Regions from separate parts of the Homo sapiens genome. Here all the other regions are linked to region 3. Evidence: promoter capture Hi-C in human tissues and cell types (Jung and others, 2019). All regions are on one chromosome and are shown on one strand. The core of a region is centred on a gene start or on the middle of the fragment in contact, and the rest is flanking DNA. Distances in the headings are between cores, read along the strand shown.

The links. The method cuts DNA at HindIII sites, captures the fragments that hold promoters and counts their contacts. A contact is called where the count stands out against the background at its distance.
Region 1: a contact is called between a fragment that was not itself captured here and the fragment with the promoter of DENND1C in region 3, in 1 of the 25 tissues and cell types used here (dorsolateral prefrontal cortex).
Region 2: the fragment with the promoter of FUT6 here is called in contact with the fragment with the promoter of DENND1C in region 3 in 1 of the 25 tissues and cell types used here (aorta).

Annotation. Positions count from the first base shown.
Region 1 is chr19:7,094,220-7,097,196 of GRCh38, reverse strand. All of the region lies in intron 1 of LOC124904625 (a long non-coding RNA gene), which reads left to right. Among named protein-coding and RNA genes, the nearest start is that of ZNF557, 26 kb to the right of the region's middle. The HindIII fragment of the contact is 4,002 bases long and covers 1-2,977 here.
Region 2 is chr19:5,837,839-5,841,012 of GRCh38, reverse strand. FUT6 (fucosyltransferase 6) reads left to right here and starts at 1,311. Exons shown (of 3, transcript NM_000150.4): 1 at 1,311-2,336. The HindIII fragment of the contact is 16,612 bases long and covers 1-3,174 here.
Region 3 is chr19:6,480,071-6,483,265 of GRCh38, reverse strand. DENND1C (DENN domain containing 1C) reads left to right here and starts at 1,479. Exons shown (of 23, transcript NM_024898.4): 1 at 1,479-1,587. The coding sequence starts at 1,571. RefSeq lists enhancers at 994-1,288, 2,885-3,195. The HindIII fragment of the contact is 27,793 bases long and covers 1-3,195 here.

The DNA of each region.
Region 1 (2,977 bases), core at 439-2,938, 610 kb before region 3:
TTTTTTTTTTTTTTTTTTTTGAGACAGAATCTTGCTCTGTCTCCCAGGCTTGAGCGCAGTGGTGTGATCTTGGCTCACTGCAAACTCTGCCTCCCGGGTTCAAGAGATTCTCCTGCCTCAGTCTCCTGAGTAGCTAGGACTACAGGCACGTGTCACCACGCCCGGCTAATTTTTGTATTTTTAGTAGAGACGGTTTCACCATATTGGTCAGGCTGGTCTCGAACTCCTGATCTCGTGATCCACCCGCCTTGGCCTCCCAAAGTGCTGGGATTACAGGCGTGAGCCACCATACCCAGCCTGGAGTTCCTTTCTTGAGTGTGTAGAGGATTGAGGGTTGATTGGTTTTTGGAGTTTCCATCATTAATGTAGGAGCGATACGGGGAATCACTTGGCGAAGCTTTCATTGTCTCTGATGTTGGAGGTAACTGGAGGGCCAGTGCCTGGGGCTTCCATTTTTTTCTAGTGTTGAAGGGTCAAGAGCATTTATCAGATAGAGGCCTTACTGTGTATTGTTTGGGGAGAGGATGGAGGGATTATTGGATGGGGTTCCACTTATCTCTAGTTGGGGAGGGTCATATTCTGGGTCTCCGCTTGCCTGTACTGTTGGTATAGACTGGGTAGGCCATTGGGCTTGGAGTCCCCATTCTTTAGTGTTGAGGGGCATCTGAAGGGGTCATTTCAGGGACTTCTGTTATAGTTTTGGACGTGACTGAGGGGTGCTTGCTGGAGTAGTTTCGCGATGACGGAGGTCTTCATGTTTGGACTCCATCTTTTGTGTTTGTAAGTGATTGAGGGGTGGAGATCTGGCATCCTGTTGCCTCTTGTTTTGAGGGTGACTGGTGGTTACCTGCTAGGGCTTCTGTCAGCTCTACTGCTGTATGCAGATTGTGAGAATCACTTGCTGGGGCTTCCATAATCTCTAGTCTTAGGGGGACTGGGAAATGGCTTGCCATGCTTTCTATTATCTCTAGTTTTAAGGGACCAGTTCAATGTGATTTAAAACTCTTTTTATTTGAAAAAAAAAAAAAATTAGGGCTGGGCACGTTGGCTCACGCCTATAATCCTAACACTTTTGGGAGGCCAAGGCAGATGGATCACTTGAGGTCAGGAGTTTGAGACCAGCCTGGTCACCATGGCGAAACCCCATCTCTACTAAAAATACAAAAATTAGCTGGGCGTGGTGGTGCACACCTGTAGTTGCAGCTACTTGGAGGCTGAGGCAAGAGAATTGCTTGAACCCAGGAGGCGGAAGTTGCAGTGAGGTGAGTGTGGGCAACAGAGTGAGACTCCGTCTGAAAAAAAAAAAAAGATTTAGACGTATAAAAGTGTTAAAACTATACAGGCTTGATTTATACAGTCAATATTTATTTGTATTTGCTCACATTTTATCTTTCCTGATTATCCTTATATATTTCTGGAATTGCTTCCACATGGAATAATTTTCCTCCAGCCCCAAAACTTTCCTTCTTTCTTTCCTTCTCCTTCCTTCCTTCCTTCCTTCCCTCCCTCCCTCCTTCCTTCTTTTTTTTTTTTGAGACAGAGTCTCGCTCCATCGCCCAGGCTGGAAAGCAACGGTGCGATCTCAGCTCACTGCAACCTCCACCTCCTGGGTTCAAGCAATTCTCCTGCCTCAGCCTCCCAAGTAGCTGGGATTATAGGCGACCGCCACTACGCCCAGCTAATTTTTTTTTTTTTTTGTAGTTTTAGCAGAGATGGGGTTTTGCCATGTTGGCCAGCCTTGTCTCGAACTCCTGACCTCAGGTGATCCACCTGCCTCAGCCTCCCAAAATGCTGGGATTACAGGTGTGAGCCACCGTGTCTGGCCCAAAACTTTCTTTAGTGTTTCTTGAAGTGCAGTTCTGCTGGTGATGAACTATGTTGTTGCTGAAACACCAGGGGTTCAATCTAGGTCCTGCTGCTCACCACTGCACAGAAAGCCTATCGCTGAGACAATGAGTATTGCCAAGGAAGAAGGCTTTAATCAGCTGCTGCAGCTGAGGAGGTGGGAGAACAATCTCAAATCCATCTCCCTGACCAACTAAAATTTGAGGTTTATATAGCAGGGAAGAAATGTTACCATGTGTGGGAATACAGGAATTAGGGAAGGGTAAGGAAGAGGAGTTGGTCAACAGGAAGCAGGTGGTCAGTTAGGCAATCATGATGGGTGATGGGTCTGATGTCTCACTGTACAAATGCAGTATTCTGGTGCGTTTCAGCTCCTAGATACTATCTGGGAGGCCTGATGGTTGGTTTCCTGAGAAAGGAACTCAGATAAGATAAATGTAACTTTCTTAAGTTTTAAGATTGGGAAGATCAATTTGTTTGTTTATTCAAGGAAACCATAAACATCAGCAATATGGGAAAATTGGGCCAGTTTCACTTTCAGGTATTTAAAAGAAAAATCTATTGGATTTTGGATATCAATTCTTGTCCTTCACTTGGCGCTAAGTTCATGTCCCTACATAAGATACAAAGGGGGCCGGGCGCGGTGGCTCCCGCCTGTAATCCTAGCACTTTGGGAGGCCGAGGTGGGCGGATCACAAGGTCAAGAATTCAAGACCAGCCTGGCCAACATAGTGAAACCCCATCTCTACTAAAAATACAAAAATTAGCCGGGTGTGCTGGCGTGTGCCTGTAGTCCCAGCTACTCGGGAGGCTGAAGCAGGAGAGTCGCTTGAATCCAGGAGGCGGAGGTTGTAGTGAGCAGAGATGGCACCATTGCACTCCAGCCTGTGTGACAGAGTGAGACTCCATCTCAAAAAAAAAAAAAAAAAAAAAGAGATACAAAGGAAGCTACTGTTGGGATAATGTCATTTGGTCGTATTCCCATCAGAAACCTTAAGCTTTGGCCACAACCAGGACTCTTCATATAAAATGGTGATGGTGGTGGTGGGGAACCAGGGAAAAAGCGGAAAAAATTAAAGATTTTTTAAAAAACCCAAACCCAAAGCATAGCTGTCTTCTATTCCTGCTTTGG
Region 2 (3,174 bases), core at 62-2,561, 640 kb after region 3:
GGATCACAAGGTCAGGAGATCGAGACCATCCTGGCTAACATGTCTCTACTAAAAATACAAAAAAAAAAAAAAAAATTAGCTGGGCGTGATGGCGGACGCCTGTAGTCCCAGCTACTTGGGGCAGGAGAATGGCGTGAACCCAGGAGGCAGAGCTTGCCATGAGCCGAGATCGTGCCACTGCACTCCAGCCTGGGCCACAGAGCGAGACTCTGTCTCAAAAAAAAAAAAGAAAAAAAACCCAGCTGGGCGGAGTGGCTCATGCCTGGCCTCTAATCCCAGTACTTTAGGAGGCTGAGGCAGACAGATCACCTGAAGTCAGGAGGTCAAGATCAGCCTGGCTAACATGGCGAAAACCAGCTCTATTAAAAAAATACGAAAGTTACCCAGTGCCGTGTCACGCGCCTGTAGTCCCAGCTACTCGGGAGGCTGGGGCATGAGAATCGCTTGAGCCCGGGAGGCATAGGTTACAGTAAACTGAGACTGTGCCACTGCACTCCAGCCCGAGTGACAGAGCAAGATTCCATCTCAAAAAAAAGAGAGAGATAGGGGTATCTCTGTTTTCCCTAGGCTGGTCTCAGACTCCTGGGCTCAAGCGATCTTCCTGCCTCTCCTTCCCAAACTGTTGGGATTACAGGTGTGAGTCACTGTGCATGGCCTCAGAAGTCTTTTTTTTTTTTTTTTTTTTTTTTGAGACAGAGTCTTGCACTGTCGCCCAGGCTGGAGTGCAGTGGCTCAATCTAGGCTCACTGCAAGCTCCGCCTCCCGGGTTCACACCATTCTCCTGCCTCAGCCTCCCAAGTAGCTGGGACTACAGGCACCCACTACCACGCCTGGCTAATTTTTTTGTATTTTTAGTAGAGACAGGGTTTCACCATGTTAGTCAGGATGGATGGTCTTGATCTTCTGATCTCGTGATCTGCCCACCTCGGCCTCCCAAAGTGTTGGGATTACAGGCGTGAGCCACCACGCCCGGCCCCCAGAAGTCATTTTTTTAATAAGTTACAGTCAACCTCACCAGTCAAGGAATGAGACATGAGTGGAATTAGGTTGCCACTTCTGGAGCTCTGGGAGACCCCAACCCCCTGGCCCATCCCTACCTCCCAGAACCTCACTGGTCTGGGCGTGGCTGGGCACTGAGATAGTAGAACTCAGGCAGCATGATGCAGCCTCCCAGAAATGATTTCTAGAACAGGGCAGTCGTGATACTTGGAGGCTGGGCTTTGAGCTCGGTCACCTTTGCACCCAGCTTGGGAGTGAGAGAGTTTAAGGTCATCCTCCCTCAAAACCAGTATTCCAGATCATTTCTCTCCATTCCAGGAAGTTTGCATAGCTCCCTGGACTTCTGCTTTGCACTGCCCTGCAGGAGTGGGTGGGGAAAGGAAGTGGCTTTGAGGCACACAGAGGGGCTTGTTGAGGCCACCGGAGGAAGCTTCTGCCACCAATATGGGACCTGTGCCCAGCCTACCAGAAGAGAGCATCTGAAAACATGTATCGACATGGTAACCCCTCTGCTTGAAGCCTCACATGGCTCCCTATTGCCTTGGTGCTGAACACCCTATGGCTGACCGTGGCCCAGCCTCTGCAACAGCTCTGCCTCCTCTCCAGTGGTGAAGACCCAGCCTGCTGAGACTCCTCCTGCAGTTCCTCAACATGCCTGCATTTCTGCTGCCTCAGGGCCTTTGCGAAGGTTGTTCCTTGTAACTGGAATGCCCTTCCATCCCTTTTTTATTCAAAAGGCTGCAATTTTAATTGAAGAAAGTTCCCTTCCAAGGTTCATGAGTTGCCTGACTTGCCCACCGGTTTCCTGCAAGATCCCTTGGCCTGGCACTTAGTGCTCAGGAAATATTTGGTGATGGGCCAACTGAGTGAGAAGGTGGGATCTGGTGGGAAGGAAAGCGGAAAGGTAGAAATTCTGCTCACTTCCTCATTCCCACCTCCCAAGGAACCCCTGGTGTCCCTGTGGAACCCGCTTTGGGAACCGGTGGTTCAGGTCAGCCTTTTCACTTTGTACTCAAAGCCACATCGCATTGAAGCCACAGGTGGGGCAAGGTCATGCATGACCTGAGTCTCCAAATCCCTTCACCCTGTTTGGTTCTGCAACGGGGATTAGGGGAGCCCCACGATTTGTTTTCAAAGGATGTCCGGGCTCCAGGACAGGATGCCCTGGGTCACCTGATGACAGGTGTGGTGGTTGGAAAGGGCCTGGTTTCAGCTCCGGGTACACTTCCTCCTTCCTTCTGCTGCGTGGTGTGGCCTCTTCCACGTCCTCAGAATCCAGCTGTTACTCCGTCCGCGGCCTCTCAGCTCTAGGGCCCTCTGCACACTGGCCCCCCCAGGTAAGGCCTCTTGTCCCACTTTCACCCCCAACCCGGATCGCATGGGTCCAGGGAAAGGCCTCCTGGCTCCGAGCCTCCTCCCCTCAGCCTCAGTCCTGTCTGCTGTAATTCAGAGTGCGGGTGGGCTGGCACAAGATCCCTGGGGGAGGGTCTGCAGGCTGTGCAGTGGCCTGGCATTTGGCCAGCAGCCCCTAGTCGCAGGCAGGGGTCTTTCTGGATGCACCGAGGTGGGCTGAGGATATGGGAGGTCTGGCTGATTTGCCAAACCAGGAGGAAGTGGGTGTCTGTCTGTCTCTCTTGCAGAGCTCTGCGGTAGAATCCCGTGCCCCCCGACCCCATCAGCAGCCTACACCCCTTCATCCTTCCTGGCCCCGGATTTTCTCTGCCTCTGCCACTCCCGGTGGTAAAAGAGGGCTTAGAATGCGGTTTGCTTTCTGGCTTTGTTTTTTTGCATCCTGATCTTTGTGGCGTGGATCGATCATTTTCCAGGGAAAGTACCTTGGGTGAGATCTCTCTCCTGGACTCCCGTTCCCCGTTTCCCCCAATCTCCCCTCCTGAAGGTCACCGGCAAAGACTTCACTGTCTCCTAGGAAGAGGTCGCCATAAACCCAGGGGCCACATGATAATATATTAATATTAAATGTATCTCTAAACATTAACCTTTCACTGGCAGCCCAAGAGCCCGACAGCACAAAGGAATACTTGGTTAAAATTCAACCTCCCTCCCAGTCCGGGCTCTGAGTGTCCCTCGAGGGCTGTCTCTTGAGTCTTTTTCCAGAACTTTGGTATGCGCTTGTGCTCTCAATCCCTTCTCATCACACCTAGGTCACCATGCCTG
Region 3 (3,195 bases), core at 230-2,729:
ACTGTTTATTGTGTCTCTGTCTGTCTCTGCATTTGTTTGTTTGTTTGTTTGCTTTGTTTTTGTTTTTGTTTTTGAGATGGAGTCTCACTCTTTCACCCAGGCTGGAGTGCAGTGGCACGATCTCGGCTCACTGCAACCTCTGCCTCCCGGATTCAAGTGATTCTCCTGCTTCAGCCTCCCAAGCAGCTGGGATTACAGGCACATGCCACCATGCCCAGCTAATTTTTTGTTTGTTTGTTTGTTTTTGATTTTTTGAGACAGAGTCCTGCTCTGTCGCCCAGGCTAGAGTACAGCGGCGCGATATCGGCTCACTGCAAACTCCGCCTCCCAGGTTCAAATAATTCTGCCTCAGCCTCCTGAGTAACTGGGATTACAGATGCCCACCACCGTGCCTGGCTAATCTTTGTATTTTTAGTAGAGACTGGGTTTCACCATCTTGGCCAGGCTGGTCTCGAACTCCTGACCTCGTGATCCACCTGCCTCAGCCTCCCAAAGTGCTGGGATTACAGATGTGAGCCACCGCACCTGGCCTGTATTTTTTTTTAATTAGAGACAGGGTTTCACCATGTTGGCCAGGCTGGTTGCAAACTCCTGACCTCAAGTGATCCGCTTACCTTGTCTTTCTGCGCACAATGGGTGTGTAACTGTGACTAAGTTGTTTTTTTTTTTTTTTGAGACAGGATCTCACTTTGTTGCTCAGGCTGGAGTACAGTAGTGCAATCTTGGTTCACTATGGCCTCAAACTCCCCAGGCTCAGGCGATCCTCCTGACTCAGCCTCCTGGGTAAGCTGGGACTATAGGTGCGTGCCACCACCGCCAGCTATAATTTTTGTAGCTTTTATAGACACAGGGTTTCGCCATGTTTCCCAGGCTGGTCTCGAACTCCTGGGCTCAAGCGGTCCTCCCACCTTGGCCTCTCAAAGTGCTGGGATTATAGGCGTGAGCCACTGTGCCCGGCCTGGGACTATGATCCAGCTGTAGGACTCCCTATCTCTCCATGTCTGTCGTCTCTGGCTCTTCTGCACTCGGTTTGTCTGTGCTGATGACTTCCTGAGCGTGTAACTGTCTGTGTCTGTGTCTGTCTGTCCGTCCCTGTGCCTGTACTTCGTGCTCTTTGTCCCCATCCCTGGCCCCCCCACCGTCCACTTTACAGGTGGCTCCCTCTGGTGGTCCACCAGTGACCGTCCAGGCCAAATGGACCAAGGGAAAGAGACGGGGAGGCATTTCATTAATAGACAGACTGTGAATCTTGGCTGCTGCGGAGCGGGGAAGGAGAGATGAGGGCCCAGGCACGATGGGGGGAACCAGACACAGTCCAGCCTGGCGGGGACGGAGCTGGGGGTCTGCCTTCCCAGGCTGACCACTTATTGCCCACCCATCCCCAACATAATTAGCAGGCAGGATGCCTGGGTTTCTCACGGGGGTGGGGGCAGGGCCTCTGTCCGGGGACGTCACCCGTTAAACTTCCTCTCTCAGCCACACAGGAAGCTGAGCCGGCTTGGGGCCCAGCATACACAGGCCCCCAGGACCCCTGGGGAGAGGGCCCCGCTGGGCTGGCCCTGCAGGGACCATGGAATCCAGAGCTGAGTAAGAGCCACCCCATCCCTCATTCTCTGGTACAAGATTCCCGGGCCAGGCCTGAGCCGGGGCAGAGGGGAGCTGGGGCTGGAGCAGGCCCGGGAGGTGCAGTGACCTGCCAGGGCAGGTGGCTGGAATCAGATACTCCATGGGCCTCCGCTATGACCTTCACTCTGGGACAGGCCACTCTCGGTCCCCTCCTCTCTCTCTCTCTCTCTCTCTCTATCCAGCTCCTGTGATTATGTCTATAGCTCTGTGAATGCATGTACCCCTCTGAGCTTTGTCCTTGGTATGTCTGAGTGATGGCTTCAGGGGGTCCACAGGGCGGATGATCAGGGCAGAGGGGAGGCTGGGTGTTGGTATGAGTGGGTGATCGTGTGTGACTTGTGTCGGCGTGAGGGTGAAGTGCTGGGGTACCCATGGTGGGGACTGTGTGTGCAACTGGGCGGGACAGTGTGTGTGCAGCTGATCTCCCTCTAGATCTCCCTGTCTCTCTCCTTGAGCCCAAGGCTGCCTCTTCTGCTTGATATGGGGGCAGAGGAGGAAAGCAGAGATTGCAGGGCTTACAGTAAGTACCTAGGTATCCTGCCCTCCTTTCTCTGATGAGACATGTGGGACCAGCCACGAGGGTTCTATGGGGTCTCACACACAGAGACACACAGCCAGCCCACAAGGATCCCACGCGGTTACCCAGTGACACTCACAGCTGTACAGGAAAATATAGATGTCATTCACTTGCTCGGGCACACACACTCACATCTATACAAGAAAATATAGATGGCATGGCTAGATGCAGTGACTCAAGCCTGTAATCCCAGCAATTTGGGAGGCTGAGGCGGGCAGATCACCTGAGGTCAGGAGTTTGAGAACAGCCTGGCCAGTATGTGAAACCCTGTCTCTACTAAAAATATGAAAATTAGCTGGGCGTGGTGGCGGGCACCTGTAATCCCAGCTACAGGGAGGCTGAGGCAGGAGAATCGCTTGAACCTGTGGGGTGGAGGTTGCAGTGAGCCAAGATCGTGCCACTGTACTCCAGCCTGGGTGACAAAGCAAAACTCCATCTCAAAAAAATAGATAGATAGATAGATAGATAGATAGATAGATAGATAGATAGATAGATAGATAGGTGGGTGGGTGGATGGATAGGTGGGTGGGTGGGTGGATGGATGGATGGATGGATAGACAGAGACAGACAGACAGACAGATAGATGGATATATATATAGAGAGAGAGAGATGTAATTCACTTAGCTTGGGACTGCACGGGCTGTCCTTCATATCTGTGCAGTCTCATGCCACAGATATAGGAGACAGTCTCATCTTTTCAGGCAGACAGCAGACAGGATCACACACACACTGCCTGCTCACAAAAGCCATGCACTCAGCCACACACAATCATACACAGCCACACACACACAGTCACACTTTCTCACTCCATCCTGTACTTGTGTGTTCAATTAACACTGCTGCACACACAGCCTCACACAACCACACACTCACAGCCACAAACCCCCAGAGTCATGCACATGCCGACGCACCTTGTGGCACATGCACACACAACCACACTTGTGTGCAAAGTGGCAGACACAACCACACATGCATAGAAGCAAGTCTCTGGA